Regions from separate parts of the Homo sapiens genome. Here regions 1, 3 and 4 are each linked to region 2. Evidence: promoter capture Hi-C in 16 types of primary human blood cells and fetal thymus (Javierre and others, 2016). All regions are on one chromosome and are shown on one strand. The core of a region is centred on a gene start or on the middle of the fragment in contact, and the rest is flanking DNA. Distances in the headings are between cores, read along the strand shown.

Region 1 (3,483 bases), core at 1-2,500, 6.1 Mb before region 2:
AGATGATATGATTTTTATTTTTTAGGTATGTCTTCAAAAAATCAATTATAAACCATTAACAACATTATTAAAACACACAGGTACCTGCCAGGACTATGATGTAGAGTACACCAGACCGTTCTTAAGAATCCAGCCAACACAAAACAGTCCAGAAAATCCCTTACCATGAGCTTTGAGCTCTCAGTGAGGAGATACGTTAATCCTTCCACACCATGCTGGACAGTGTCACTACTCACATTGAGTTTTCCTGAGAAAGAAAAGTAAAAACGAGCAAATAAATTACTACTGTAGTATTTATCTTGTTCATATTTGTATTTAAAAATAAACACTATTCATTATTACATGTTTTCAAACACTGCATGAAAAACAGTAAGTTGGCCAGAGGCTCCTGCTCCTTGTCATTCCACTCCCAGCCAAATGCCTTTGGTATTTCCCACCAAGTAACCTTAACAAAATGCAGAACTGTGGAGACTAGTATCAGGTGCGTAGCCCTTCTCTTGAATACGTAGCTCCTTCAAGTCTGGCAGAAGAGGAACTCGACAGGGATTGACTTAATCCCAGAGACTGCCTCTTACCCAGGGGTAAAACAACACTTTTTTTTTTTTTTTTAGCAAAAGCGGATATCTGAACAACTAATAATGATAACCAAATACTTGCAATTTACAGTTGACCCAGCTATTCCACAGACTTTGGTATATTTATACAAAACACTTTTCAGTATTTCTGAAAGTAAGGTGGTATTATGTACATTTTACCATGAGAAAACTGATTTAATAGAAGCTTTAACAATCTCACAGCTACTTAAGGGACGGGCAGGATTTGCACCCTGACTGAAGAGCTCTGCTGGTTTTATTCTACTACAATCGGAACAAGACCCTAGGACTCGCAATAATCCGTTTCTCTCCCGGGAGACAGGGAATGGCTCGCAACCGCCCTAGAAGCCTGCGGAGCCTTCCCCTTTCCCTTCTTACTGGCGGCGCCTTCGTAGATTTTTGGGTTTGCGCCGCGTCTCAGGAATTCCACAGCAATCCGCCCAAACTCGGCGACCACTGCAATGAAAGTCAGAAGGCTGTTGAGTGCCAGGCGCTGCCTTTGACCTCCTCCCCAGCCCACAGAACACCGCCCCCACGCCCGCTGACCCGCGCTGTCCACTTGAGGCAGGAAGGCCAGGTGTTCCTTATGCTCCTCGGACAATTCCAGCAGCATCTTCACTGTCCTACGATTTCACCCGGCAGCGCCGACCCCGCCTTCGCCACTTCCGGCGCCCGTGTCCCGGCGCCTAGAGGCTCCGGCGTCGCAGCGTCCGGAGCTTTGGGTTCCGGCCTACGAACTAACGCGTTACACTCGGACGTTCCCTGCAGCGCAGGCTGAGGTCAGAACATTGAAATCATCCCGCAAAGATGCAGTGAGCGCCTGCTGGGTGCAAGGTGCTAGGCTCTATGGGAGATGAAAAGGTGTTTCAAATCCGACACGCCCCCTCGTGGAGCATACATTAATAATATCAATAGTTCACATTTGTTAAGCACTAACCGTGTCAGGAAGTGTTCTTACATTTATTAAATACATTTGGAGTTCAGAAGAACCCTATGAGGTAGGTTCCATTATAATTTCCATTAGAGATAAGGAAACTGATAGACAAGTCCAGCAACTGACACTTTTATAAAGCTAATAGTTTCCAGAGCTTCTATGTTATCTTAAATGTATCTCAGTTAATATCCTCAACAAACATGGCTTTGTTTTTACAGATAAGACACAAAGCTCCAGAGATTATGTGACAAAGCCTGTGACAGAGTTAGATGGAGAGGGTTGGATCCCTCACTTACCTGCTGCAAAGCCCATCCTTCTACATAACAGCCTGAAAGCTGAAAGCTTCTGACAAGTTTTATGAGTGATTATAAATTAGGATAAAGATAATGATGACAATGACCGATGCTTACAGGATTCAGAGCAATGTTTTTGTTTGTTTGTTTTGTTTTGTTTTGTTTTTTACATGGAGTCTCGCTCTGTCGCCCGGCTCACTGCAACCTCTGCCTCCCGGGTTCAAGCGATTCTCCTGCCTCAGCCTCCCGAGTAGCTGGTATTACAAGCGCCCACCACCATGCCTGGCTAATGTTTGTATTTTTAGTAGAGACGGGTTTTCACCATGTTGGCCAGGCTGGTCTTGAACTCCTGACCTCAAGTCATCCAGCCAACTTGGCCTCCCAAAGTGCTGGGATTACAAGCATGAACCACCACACCTGGCCCAGAGCAATGCCTTTTAAAAAGTATTTAGCGCCTGTGATAATTTAGTTCCTTTTCCAACTCTCTTCTCACCTGCTGTGGTTCAAATATCAGAGATGATAAAGTTGCTAATTGATAGGAATATGATTCTTCAAATCTTAACCCCTTGAAAATGGAGGGTGTGGAGGAAGAGAGGGGAAGGGAAGAAGACTCTTCATATCTGTCTTTTCTATCTAAGGCTTGAGACAACTCTATATTCTGAGTCTCCCAGGCAGACTAAAAATTGGAAGAGTTTTTCAATTCACTTCTCTGTGTCTACTTTGTCCTTCACATCTGACTGAAATTGTTTCTTCCACTGGGACACAGAAAGACAGGTCCTTGAACTTATTAGTTAGTTCTTGAAGTAGCATTTGCAGAGAGAACACAACTTTTACTTAGACTGTGAATTGCAGATTAGCAAAAATTGCATCATTTCCTGAAGTTGCCTTTATTCACACATTATTGAGAAAACATCCATTATTAAAGAATAATTTTCAGAAAAGGTAAAATCATGATTCTTCTACAAGTGTACAATGAACACATGTCAAAAAATGTATTGAACTAGTTAATTAATGAGAGAATTACAGCATTCTGTAATTAATGAGAGATTACAGTAAAAACCAGTTTCAACTGATTCAAAAGAGGTATTCAAGAACTGTACATATATAGGGAGTAGGAATGCTGAAATGAATTTGCAAATAGACACAATATTATGCCAATATGAAATGGCCTTTCTTGTCTGTAATCTCAGGGAATGAAGTGAGGACAGGCGAGGTGAAGGTGAGACTAGGGAGTAGCACAATAGGCTGTCTAAAAAAGGTGGTCAAGGAACCAAGTTAGGCCAGGTATGGTGGCTGATGCCTGTAAACCCAGCACTTTGGAAGGCCAAGGCGGGAGGATCACTTGAGGCCAGAAATTCAAGTCTAGCCTGACCAACATGGTAAAACCCCATCTCTACTAAAAATACAAAAATTAGCAAAGCTTGGTGGCATGTACCTGTGGTCCCAGCTACTTGGTAGCCCAAGGCATGAAAATTGCTTGAACCTGCGAGGCAGAGGTTGCAGTGAGCAAGATTTGAGTCACTGCACTCCAGCCTGGGTGACAGAGTCAGACACTGTCAAAAAAAAAAAAAAGAAAGAAACCAAGTTATATCCAAGAAAAACCAGCCTGGGAGTTAAAACACCCCAGGATAATTTATAGAGTGACTTCTGTTGCCATAAGTGA
Region 2 (3,405 bases), core at 597-3,096:
GGTGTGCCATTTCCTGGCCTCGTGGAATCTTATTCAAGAACAAAGTCAAATGTTATCTGCAATGTGAAGCCTGACTCCCAAAGGCAGTTACTAACTGGCAACTCTGAACTCTCCTAAAATGTTCATCTTCCTTATTTCTTGAGTGCAGAACTCTGCCTTATTCATTAGAGGCCTTAGAATCCCGTCCCTTAGCTGGTTCAATAATGTTTGAACGAATAAACCCTGTTCCATTCACTAGAAGGCTGGATTCTGGGTACAACGGTAGGGGTAGAAATGGATTAGAAAGTATAGAGCTAGAAACCTAAAACCAACAAGACAAAAGGAAAAATGTGAACCATATGAGCCACACTTTTTAAAAGTGTGCATTTGTGTATTAAGCAAGTGGCATGAATCCCTGGACTCGGTTGTGTTATTTGATGGGTTGCCTCTCCCTGTTAACCGCATAGTGATCATTTGATTGCTCTAATATCATTCATTTTGGCTTTAATATTTCAAAGAAGCTCATTTGGACGAAACAGAAAACTTACCTTGAGTTATCTCCCATACAATGATTTCCAGTAAATTAATGAGCTTCCCTCCAACGTCACACACTCTTTCAAAAGGATAAATAAACCTAACACCATAATAGCTTAAATACACTACCTGAAAGAGTAACGATTCCTCTGGGTTGAGGCTGAAACCGCAAATATTTGTTACAAAAGTCGGCAGATTCAAGGGCCAAAAACAAAACATTGCCCAAAAAGTAACCCGCTGTTTGGCCCACCGAATTGCAAGTAGAAGCATAACCCACATTTTCCCTGGATAACATAGTTAACGCCCAACCATCGACGGCAATGTCCTGAGTGGCGGCCAAGAATTCAAACAAAAAGAACGCCACAGTGAGAGCAATCACGTCGGGTGTTCTGTCATCGGTATTCCCAAGCAAACGGTCCACCTGAGTGGATAAATAGATCATGAAGAGTCCTAGTATATACTGTGTCGGGACAAGCCAAGATTTGCGACGACCGAAGTTCTTAACGTAGACCGCATCAACCAACGGGGCCCAGAGTAATTTGAGACTGAAGGGCCAAAAGACAAAACTGAAGAAAGCTTGGTCTGTATAGCTAACATTTTTGCTTTGCAAAATGAGTGGGATGCTTCCCGCCAAGCCCAGGGGAATACCCTGAAGCACGTAAAGAAAGAGTAGTAGCAAAATGCTGCTTAGTTCGGCCCGGAAGCTCTGTGGGGCTTTTAAGAAGTCGCCAGTGCCGGTATCCCCCAGAAGAGCTTCTCTGTCCCCTTCCCGGCCCGCTGAGTCCAAATGACTGTCATCCCAACCGCCTGGCGGCAGGGGACCGCTCTTCATATCCAGAGAGTGACTGAAATTCCCTGGCCGCCGTTGCCGGCTGCTGTCCTTGTGGGAGATGGTGGGTGACATATCAGAGACGATGCAGAGCCCCGTCTGTGGGGGGCCGAGGCTGAGCGTTTTGGATCCGTCCAGTCCCAGGTCCAAGGCTGTCGCGCTGGACCAGGGTTTCGGTGGTTCACGGGATGGTGGCAGGGCTCAGAGCGATAAGGGCACTTCTTACTGCAGCCCGGAGTGCTGAAGCCGGGAGCCAGTCCTCTGGCTAGAGGCCCAGAGGATGCCTGGATAGGTGCCCCCTGGAACGGCGTCAAAGAGCCTGAAGGAGACCCCCGGGCAGCAGCGCCGGGCTCGAGGCTGGAGGTGTGTGCCGTGGTGCCAGGATGGAAACCAGCTCCTACCTGCGGCGGGATCGAACGGCTGGTCTCCCGACCCAACACCTCCAGCTCTCGCTGCTATCAATGCGGCAGAGAGCACTTTCTCTACAGGACTCCAGAAAAAGCATATAACTTCCTGCCTCGCGCTTCAGGAAGTGGTCCCAGTCTCTAACAGGTCCCTTCCCAGCCTCCAGAGCAAGCCAATCAGGGACACGCTCTCGTGGCCCAGTTCGGAAACAATGCTTGGTGGGAACCTGCAATCTTGGCTGCCGGAACCTTCGGGGAGGATTAACGCCGGCGCACCGTGCGGCCGGGGCGGGGCGCCGCCCAAACTCAGGCCCTGTGACAGCGACTGTGGCGGTCTGGAAAGCGTGGGCCTCGGTCATTGGGCACGAGCGGTCACGTGACAGCGGGTTCCTCCAGGCCAGCGCTGGTGGTTGAGTGATGTAATCACGTGGGGTCTGAAGTCTTCGTGGGTGTAGGTTTCTTCGTTATGCTGACGACAGGCAGTGCCCGAACTCTAGGCTGGGAGTTGTGCCATGCTGCTGCTTTCGTGGGCTGACCAGAAAAGGGTAGAAGGATTGACGTTTACGAAGTTTTTGAATCAGGAGGCAAGGTCGCCTTGTGCCCCCAAAAGGATAGAAAAAGGCCTGGCAAACTGGAGAATCGCGTCCTTACGGTGCCTACATATTTATAGTACGAATTAAACTGCTCAAGGGGTGCTAGGTTTGTCTGCAGTCCGTTTCTCCCTCATGGTGGAAGACGCGTGGGGAAACTTGGTAACCAACTCTAATTACATTGGTGATTGGAAGACTCGTTACATCCTGTTTTTATGTTGCAATAAAACGTCTTGTGGCCGGGCGCGGTGGCTCACGCCTGTAATCCCAGCACTTTGGAAGGCCGAGGCGGGCGGATCACCTGAGATTGGGAGTTCAAGATCAGCCTGACCAACAAGGAGAAACCCGTCTCTACTAAGAGACGTACAGGAATTTGAGAATCTGATTAATTTTTTTTCTGCTCTCTCACCTCTGGCAGAAAGATTATTATTTTTTTTTCTTTTGAGAGGAATCTCACACTGTCGCCTGGGCTGGTGTTCAGTAGGGCCATCTCGGCTCGCTGCAGCCTCCACCTCCCGGGTTCAAGCGATTCTCCTGCCTCAGCCTCCCGAGTAGCTGGGACTACAGGCACGCGCCACCACGCCCGGCTAATTTTTGTATTTTTAGTAGAGACGGGGTTTCACTATGTTGGCCAGGCTGGTCTCGAACTCCTGACCTCGTGATCCGCCTGCCTCGGCCTCCCAAAGTGCTGGGATTACAAACGTAATGGCAGGCTAGGCACAGTGGCTCACGCCTATAATCCCAGAACTTTGGGAGGCCGAGGCGGGTGGATCACGAGGTCAAGAGATTGAGACCATCCTGGCCAACACGGTGAAACCCCGTCTCTACTAAAAATACAAAAAATTAGCTCGGCCTGGTGGCGCGCGCCTGTAGCCCCAGCTACTTGGGAGGCTGAGACAGGAGACTCGCTTGAACCTGGGAGGCGGAGGTTGCAGTGAACCGGGATCGTGCCACTGCAATCCAACCTGGCGACAGAGTGAGACTCCGTCTGGAAAAAAAAAAAAAAGGCAACTGTAAAGTCCTCTAATCTTTGTTAAGTAGAAGAATAGATTGCAGAAAAGAACAGTGT
Region 3 (3,810 bases), core at 558-3,057, 5.4 Mb before region 2:
TATCTTTATCTTTCCTTTCATCTCATAATATATCATTTTAAGGAGAAATGGTCTTACAGATTACTTTAAGATTTTTCCTCTAAATGTACGATTTAAGAGTATCATAACGAGTAATCAAGAAGTTTATATGATAAGATAATGTAAAGGGATGAGCAGGCATATAATACTCATTTTTCCAAAAGCACCACCATCAACACTACCCATTATAACCACCTTAAACATCTGGTAAATCAATCCAAAATTAAATTAAGCTTTTATAAATTCATATTGGGTTTAACCATTTGATCTAACTTATTGATGGAAAACTGCCTCTAACAATTACTGAAATTACAGACTTAGAAATGAAACATTCCATTAGCTATCTCTGCCACAATAGCATAACGTTACATTTTGTTCCATTACTTTCGCCCAGCCCCTTAAGAAATAGGGATTTTATGTCGTCTTATTTCACATTCTGACTCCAGTCACTTGGGTTTGGAGGGCATGGTTTCCACTAAAGTTAAAAGACCTAGCTCTATAAATTACAACTAAAGACCTAAAAAATTCTCTGCAAATTTAATTCTCAAAACATCTTTTGGGATAAAAAGTATTTCTATTCTTCAAAGATTAGAGAACCGAGTTCAACGATTTACTGATTTAAGTTATCATTATGTGATTGCTAACGCTGCAGTAGATATGAAATCACGATTTCCATTAAGACTTAGATTTTACCTAAATGACGACTGCTTTAGTATGTCAAAGTTTAGGAGCCCATCCCCATTTTTTTAAACTGCTTAAAAGAATGGCCTTAGCATGCCAAAGTTTAAGAGCCCATCCCCATTTTTTTTTAACTGCTTAAAAGAATGGCCTTACCATTTTCTTTGGCCAGGAACTAACTACAAGATGATAAATTTGCCAGTACTTTCTTTTCATAGTTGTTCTTTGCATTGGAACAGGAAAGGGTGCTTTATCACTCGTTACGGTTGTTCATGGCCCAATCCAAATCATATAATACGCTGGCTGCTACTAACAGTTTTAGAATAAACAAAAAGAAGAACTATAATGCAGTAGGTTCTACATTTATAAAGCCCATGAGCTGATTTCGTGCCGAAAGTAAAACAGTCTCAAGAGTTTAAATGAATCCTGGAATCACAGCAAATTCAGGAAATTTAGGAATATGTTGGTAACCCTTAAGCTTTTTAAAAACTGACTACACCCTGGGCAAGTAACCACCCCCTGATGCCGTTGTGGGAGACAGAATTTCTGGCAGGAAGATAATTTTCTGACTCAATCTGGCTTGCCGTTCTTGTTTAATCATCCCCATTTCTCTGAACATTTTACTCCTCTGACTACAATGGTCAACATTTATTTTCAGAAGTTTTAAAGTGATTTAGTTCTTCCAGCCGCACCTCTTTTTATCCCATCTAAGTCTTCCCCAGCCCCCATTCCTATCGCCCTCGTTTCACTAAGATTTTGCTAAACATTAGACACAAGCACATGACCTCCAGTCTTCCACTGTCTCGGAACAAACCGACATAAAAACATCTGATTAGTTCCATTGTAAGCTTCCCTAGGCTTAGAATTTAAAATGGTCTTTAGCTCGTCAATGCTTAAAGAACCTACAACACAAAATTTAAATTTTAAAAATTTTAAATAAAGAAACCGCTCCCTTTTTTAACCTTTAGCCCCGCCCATTGCCCCCCACCCCAGGTTCCACGCGAAACTGCAGGAAACCGGAGGGGGCGGAGCGGTGACGTCACGACGCCGGTGCGTCACGGAACGGCGGCGGCTGCGGCGCTGGCGGTGGCTGCGGCAGCGGCGGCATTTTAGTCGGCAGCGGCGGCGGCAGCGGGGCTGCTGCTCCTCCCAGCATCCCTGGCGCGGCCATTTCAGCCCCATCTTGGCCCAGCGGAGGGAGCTGCAGCCGCCGCTTCAGCAGTTTGAATTTCAGTTTCTTCGGGGTTTAGGAATTGGGCGCACCGAGGAGGAGCCGGAGAAGCCACCACCGCTACCTCACACAGCCGGGGCGCCTCCGGTCCCGTGCCAGCGGTCTGCCGCCGCCGCCCCTCTCTGAGAGAAGCCGCGAGGGGAGGCCGAGACCGCCGTCGCCGCCCGCCCGCAGGGGTGGTTCCCCCTGTAAGGGGAGGACCGAGCCGGCTTTCCCCTCCCCCAGAGCGGGTTTCCGCCTGAGGCAGTCGACATGTCCCTGGGGCTGAGCTCCGGCTAGAGCCGGGGAGGGAGGGCCGCCTGCCCGCGCCACAGCCCCACCGCCCGCCCGCGGACCTTCAGCCAGCTCCGGCCCGCGGCTCCCGGCTGAATTAGGCATCTCCGACTCCGGACTCGCCGCTCCTTCCCTCAGTCAGAGAGCCCAGCGCTGACGCCGGCACCGGCCTGAGGAGCCCGAGCGGGGCAGCACCGCCCCTCACGCCGCCGCCACCGCCTCCTCCTCCTCCTCTTCGCCCTCCCACTCCCACCCCCAGCCAAGGCCTGCTGACCGCGCCGAGCGCCGAGCTGGACTGACCACGGCTGCCCGGAGACGAGAGAGGAAGCAGCCGGCCCGCCCCTGGGTTCGCGCTCTCGCCGCCTCTGAGGGAATTGAATTGAGGCGCCGCGGCTGCGAGAGCTAAAAAGGAAGGAGGAGCCGCCGCGGGACTGAGACGGGGGCAGAGCCGAAGAGACCGACACAGAGAAGGAAACGAGGAGGAGGATGTCTCACCGGGCGGCCAGCGCCTGGATCAGCCCGTGACTCTTAACAGCGGCGGGCCTCAGACCCCAGCGCAGACTCGGACTTTGTCTTTGGGGGCCCGTGCTCTGCCCTCCCCGGTTTCCGACAGGACCCAGAGGAGCCGGCGTGCCTCTCTGCCCTCCAGCCTTCTTCACCATGTCCAAGATGCCGGCCAAGAAGAAGAGCTGCTTCCAGATCACCAGTGTCACCACGGCCCAGGTGGCCACTAGCATCACCGAGGACACCGAGAGCTTGGACGACCCGGACGAGTCACGCACAGAGGACGTCTCCTCCGAGATTTTCGACGTCTCTCGGGCCACGGATTATGGCCCTGAGGAGGTCTGCGAGCGCAGCTCTTCCGAAGAGACGCTTAACAATGTTGGGGATGCGGAGACTCCCGGGACCGTCTCCCCAAACCTCCTCCTAGATGGGCAGCTGGCAGCGGCGGCTGCTGCTCCCGCCAACGGAGGAGGAGTCGTTTCGGCCCGGAGCGTGTCTGGGGCGCTCGCCAGTACCCTGGCGGCGGCTGCCACTTCGGCCCCCGCCCCCGGAGCACCCGGCGGCCCCCAGCTCGCGGGCTCATCCGCCGGGCCAGTGACTGCAGCCCCATCTCAGCCTCCCACCACATGTAGTTCCCGTTTTCGCGTGATCAAGCTGGACCACGGGAGCGGAGAGCCCTATAGACGCGGCCGATGGACGTGTATGGAATACTATGAGAGGGATTCAGACAGCAGCGTCCTGACTAGATCCGGGGATTGCATTAGACACAGCAGTACTTTTGACCAGACTGCGGAGCGGGACAGCGGCCTGGGCGCCACCGGAGGGTCGGTGGTGGTAGTAGTGGCCTCCATGCAGGGGGCGCACGGGCCCGAGTCGGGAACTGACAGCTCCTTGACTGCTGTGTCACAGCTACCCCCGTCGGAGAAAATGAGCCAGCCCACTCCGGCCCAGCCGCAGAGTTTTAGCGTTGGGCAGCCACAGCCGCCGCCGCCACCCGTAGGTGGGGCTGTGGCTCAAAGCTCGGCTCCGCTGCCGCCGTTCCCGGGAGCCGCGACCGGGCCGCAGCCAATGATGGCAGCCGCGCAGCCCAGCCAGCCCCAGGGAGC
Region 4 (3,628 bases), core at 703-3,202, 5.1 Mb before region 2:
GGGGACAGTAAAAAGGCAGTCCCATAATTTCTAGGAGCCTCAAACTGTAGGCCAAAGGGCTAGGTAAACAGATCTGCCTTGTTTTAAGTTTGATACAGGCCTTACGGCTCTCTGTTGTTTCTCATCCTCTACAACTAACACATCTTGGTTGGTCGCTGGGCCTATGTATACATTCAAGTTTGGTTTATCCAGACTAACTGGCTGAGCTGCCCTGCCAATAGTTTGGATTATTGATCAACCAAAGGTGAGGGACACACACCCCAGCTTTATACAACTCACACACATGCACACACAAAAGCATCCCCAAGATCACATCCTAAGCTTGGTTCTTGGTCTGCAGGGGAATAATTGGCCCTTTTAAATTTCAGCTTGCAAAGTAATAGCTTTACCCCACTGCATTCTTATAGAATAGAGACTCAGAAAACCACTGACATGTACAGAAAGGCTGAGAACCCCTGATTCCCAGAACTACTCTTCAAGGTTGATTTCAGTAGCCTGTTTCACGTTAGGAAAGAACGTATGCTTTCATAGGAACCAGAGTTCTAGATCCTGAAAGTGAAACTTCATGCTCCATATAGCATAACTGTTTCCTTCCCTTTCTCTTGGGAACAACACAATTCTATTATGGTTACATTTTAAAAACAAATTATGGATTACTGACTAATATCAAATGCTCATTTGTGAACTAAAACTCACCTAAAAGCCATTTCTTTTGTTAGCCGCTGCGCGTTTAAGGGAAAGTAAAGGGGTGAGAAAATGGCTCCCCAGAAATCCTATGGGGCATCCCCCACCCCTGCAATATATCTCAAGCATCAAATAGCCACTCTATGTTAACTACCACCAAACCTTTTCCAACCACTAGGTTGTCACCTTTTTCACAACCCTAAGACAACTATGCAAATACTTTATCTAAATTTTGAGAAACTGGGCTGAGTGAATTAGTAAGCACTATATGAGGAGGGGTTAACAGCAATTTATTAAGGTTGCCTGAAACACCCTAGTCCAAACACCGATTCAAACTCTTATTTAAATATGCTATTTTAAACCTGATTTGCAGCAGGGCAGCAGACCAAATTAAAGCACTCATTTTACTGACCTGAGTCCCAAGCCTGAATTCTCTGGTGGATTATTTTTAATTTAAAAATGAGCTCTTGTCCTATAAAATAAGCAGCACCAAGGAGAAATGCAAGACAGCTTAAATGGCCCAAGAGGCAGCGCAAGTTACTTTTACAAAAAAACTGGAAAGTATTAGTGACATTATCTCCACTTCTAATTTCAGAAAATGACTTTACAGTATACTTCTAGGTTATAACGTAGACAAGTATGTCTGTGAAACTGCTCCTGAAGGTTTCCACGTAATAGCTGCAGGTAAACAAATGTTATAATATGACCACACAATGCAATACTATGCAGCCATTTAAAATACAATGAAGTCGACTAGGTTTCAGGCATAGAGAAATATGTGTGATAATATGAATTTAAGAACAGCAAGTTGCAGATGCCATTTTTGGAGAAAAACTTACATCTATGTGTGGGTATTAAAAAACCTCCCTGACATACACTGACATCTATGATTCTATATTTAGCTGCGAGGGTGTATGTATATATAGTTTAAAAAGATACACACTAAACCTAACAATGGTGGGAAAGGAGGGGAGAGATCTTGGTCTTTCATTTTACTTCTTGTCTTGGTGGCTTGCATTTTTCGCAAGGGCATTGAAAACTTTTTACATTAAATAAAAAATGAAGTGATGAGCTTTAAACAACTGTAACAACAGCTCTTGAGTGCCCTTGTTAATTTCTTGATTGACTGTTTTCACCCCACTTAGTACAACAACGCAGCCACAACTCCTCAGTCCTTCCCAGTCTTTGGAAGGCTAGGAGAGAAAAAGGCGTGGCTTGCAGGGTTTTCTTCTAGCTAGAGGAAAACAGGCTGTAGGCGCCCTTTTTTTAGCTACAATCCCGAGAGCTCCCACGTGTCAGGGGTGCGCAGACGGTAGGCGCGGGGTGCAGGACTCCAATTATCAATTCAGCCGAGCCCAGCGCTGGTAAAGGGGGCGTTTAGCTCGCCCGTTTCCTCCCTCCTCAATCCCCACACAGTCAGTTTCTCGGTCCAAGTTTTACTGGTGCGGCCCAGCCCTACCGAGAGTACCCGAATACACGTCTGCAGAGGACGCGGGCATTGGGCCGGGTGAGCTACGATGTTCTAACGATCAGCAAATGCCAATTAATCTGTTAATTGTCTATTAACAATTATTACTCGGTAAATGTCAACCCAGACCTACACCCAAAGTGGGCTTGAGGGAGGGTGGACGAAGTGTAAACATTTTTTCTTTTTTTTTTTTAAATGAGAGATGCCGCCCGCCTCTCCGGGCCTGCGAGTGGGCTGGCGGATACCGGAGTCCCTGAGGTCACCGGCGGAGGTACGTGGGCTGTCCCTGGGCTTACCTTACAGGGAAACAGGACTGCCGAGGCCACCTTCTCCATAGCCAGGTTCCTGATGCTGGGCGTCAGGGCGCCCCTGCACGTCGGGCAGCAGCTCAACTTCTGGCGGCATTGGTTACACACCAGGTGCCCGGCCTGGCACTGCAGAATAGGAGGCAGGACATAGTCAAAGCAGACCGGACACTCGAAGAGCGAGGTCAGCTCGTGGTGCTGCGGGGACACCGGGCCGGCCCCGCCGCCGCCGCCGGGGCCCGAGATCACCGCCGCCGCGGCGGGCACCGCGGACGAGCCGGGGCCCGCAGCCGAGATGGTGGCGGCGGCCGGGGGCGCAGCCGGGGACGGAGTGTGCTGGGGCTGCGGCGGCGGCTGCTTGCTGCAGGGTTTATTAGCGCTGGGGCCGGTGGAGGACGGGCGGCTCATCGCGCTCCGAACCAACCATGGAACTGCGGGCGCCTGCCTGCCGCGGGGCCGCCCGGGTCAAGGCGGTGCGCGCCCCGCGGGCAGCGAGCTCCGAGGCAACGCCACGGCGCCCAGCCCAGGTCCGGGCGGCGGAGACGCTCGGCGCCCGGCAGGCGGAGGGCTGGACCGCGCTGATGCACTCCGCAGCCCCCGGCGTTCCGAGCACGCCTCCGCGTCGGACCCCGCGCGGTGCCCTCCTCCCGGCGGCGTCCCGGGCCCCGAACCCCAGCGGTGCGCAGAGCCCTGGCCCACCCGCTTCTGGAACAGCCGCTGACGCAAGCCCCGGGGGCGCGCGCGGACGTGACGCCTGGACACGTGTGCGGCCGCCCAGGCGCGCGGGGACTGGCAGAGCCACCCTGCGCCGGGGCGCTGGCTCCGCCCGGCTCCAGCTGGCAGCGCAGGGGGCCGCCTAGCGCCGGCGCTTCCTGCTCGGGCTGCGGGCCGGGCCTGCGCCAGTGAGCATGCCTGGCTCGCTGCAGCCCCGCGGGGTTGTCTTTTCTGGGTTGAGGAGGGGGGCTACTCTCGGGGAAGCGTCGCCGAAGTCCTCTGGCCACACCCCGGGGTGCCTGGCTGACGCGTCCCTCAGCTCAAACGAGAAAGGCAACTTCAGGCGGGGCGGGAGCGTGGACGGTGGGTGGGACCGGACGCGGGCGGGCAGGGGCGGGGCGCGGGCGCCCCTGCACTAGTCGGAAAAAACCGAGAGGTTTCTCTTCTCAGGGCTGAG

Evidence for each region. The method cuts DNA at HindIII sites, captures the fragments that hold promoters and counts their contacts. A CHiCAGO score of 5 or more calls a contact.
Region 1: the fragment with the promoter of COMMD2 here is called in contact with the fragment with the promoter of SLC33A1 in region 2 in 7 of 17 cell types (non-activated CD4 T cells, naive CD4 T cells, total CD4 T cells and 4 more); the score reaches 9.4 in non-activated CD4 T cells.
Region 3: a contact is called between the fragment with the promoter of TSC22D2 here and the fragment with the promoter of SLC33A1 in region 2, in 2 of 17 cell types (activated CD4 T cells and total CD8 T cells). The highest score is 6.7, in activated CD4 T cells.
Region 4: a contact is called between the fragment with the promoter of SIAH2-AS1 here and the fragment with the promoter of SLC33A1 in region 2, in 1 of 17 cell types (activated CD4 T cells). The highest score is 5.4, in activated CD4 T cells.

What each region holds. Positions count from the first base shown.
Region 1 is chr3:149,751,239-149,754,721 of GRCh38, forward strand. COMMD2 (COMM domain containing 2) reads right to left here and starts at 1,251. Exons shown (of 5, transcript NM_016094.4): 1 at 1,140-1,251; 2 at 972-1,049; 3 at 165-247. The coding sequence starts at 1,206. RefSeq lists a silencer at 1,407-1,476. The HindIII fragment of the contact is 1,089 bases long and covers 779-1,867 here.
Region 2 is chr3:155,852,581-155,855,985 of GRCh38, forward strand. It overlaps SLC33A1 (solute carrier family 33 member 1), which reads right to left and starts at 1,847. Exons shown (of 6, transcript NM_004733.4): 1 at 643-1,847. The coding sequence starts at 1,417. It overlaps LOC105374174 (a long non-coding RNA gene), which reads left to right and starts at 2,173. Exons shown (of 3, transcript XR_924607.4): 1 at 2,173-2,498. RefSeq lists enhancers at 1,435-1,504, 1,875-2,434. The HindIII fragment of the contact is 4,607 bases long and covers 1,088-3,405 here.
Region 3 is chr3:150,406,491-150,410,300 of GRCh38, forward strand. TSC22D2 (TSC22 domain family member 2) reads left to right here and starts at 1,808. Exons shown (of 3, transcript NM_001303264.2): 1 at 1,808-3,810. The coding sequence starts at 2,861. RefSeq lists silencers at 1,899-2,498, 3,169-3,338, 3,599-3,810 and enhancers at 2,869-2,918, 3,625-3,810. The HindIII fragment of the contact is 3,533 bases long and covers 1,543-3,810 here.
Region 4 is chr3:150,759,985-150,763,612 of GRCh38, forward strand. It overlaps SIAH2-AS1 (SIAH2 and CLRN1 antisense RNA 1), which reads left to right and starts at 1,953. Exons shown (of 3, transcript NR_187306.1): 1 at 1,953-1,996; 2 at 2,355-2,423. It overlaps SIAH2 (siah E3 ubiquitin protein ligase 2), which reads right to left and starts at 3,185. Exons shown (of 2, transcript NM_005067.7): 1 at 2,449-3,185. The coding sequence starts at 2,865. RefSeq lists enhancers at 740-839, 2,656-3,602 and a silencer at 2,711-3,610. The HindIII fragment of the contact is 3,527 bases long and covers 320-3,628 here.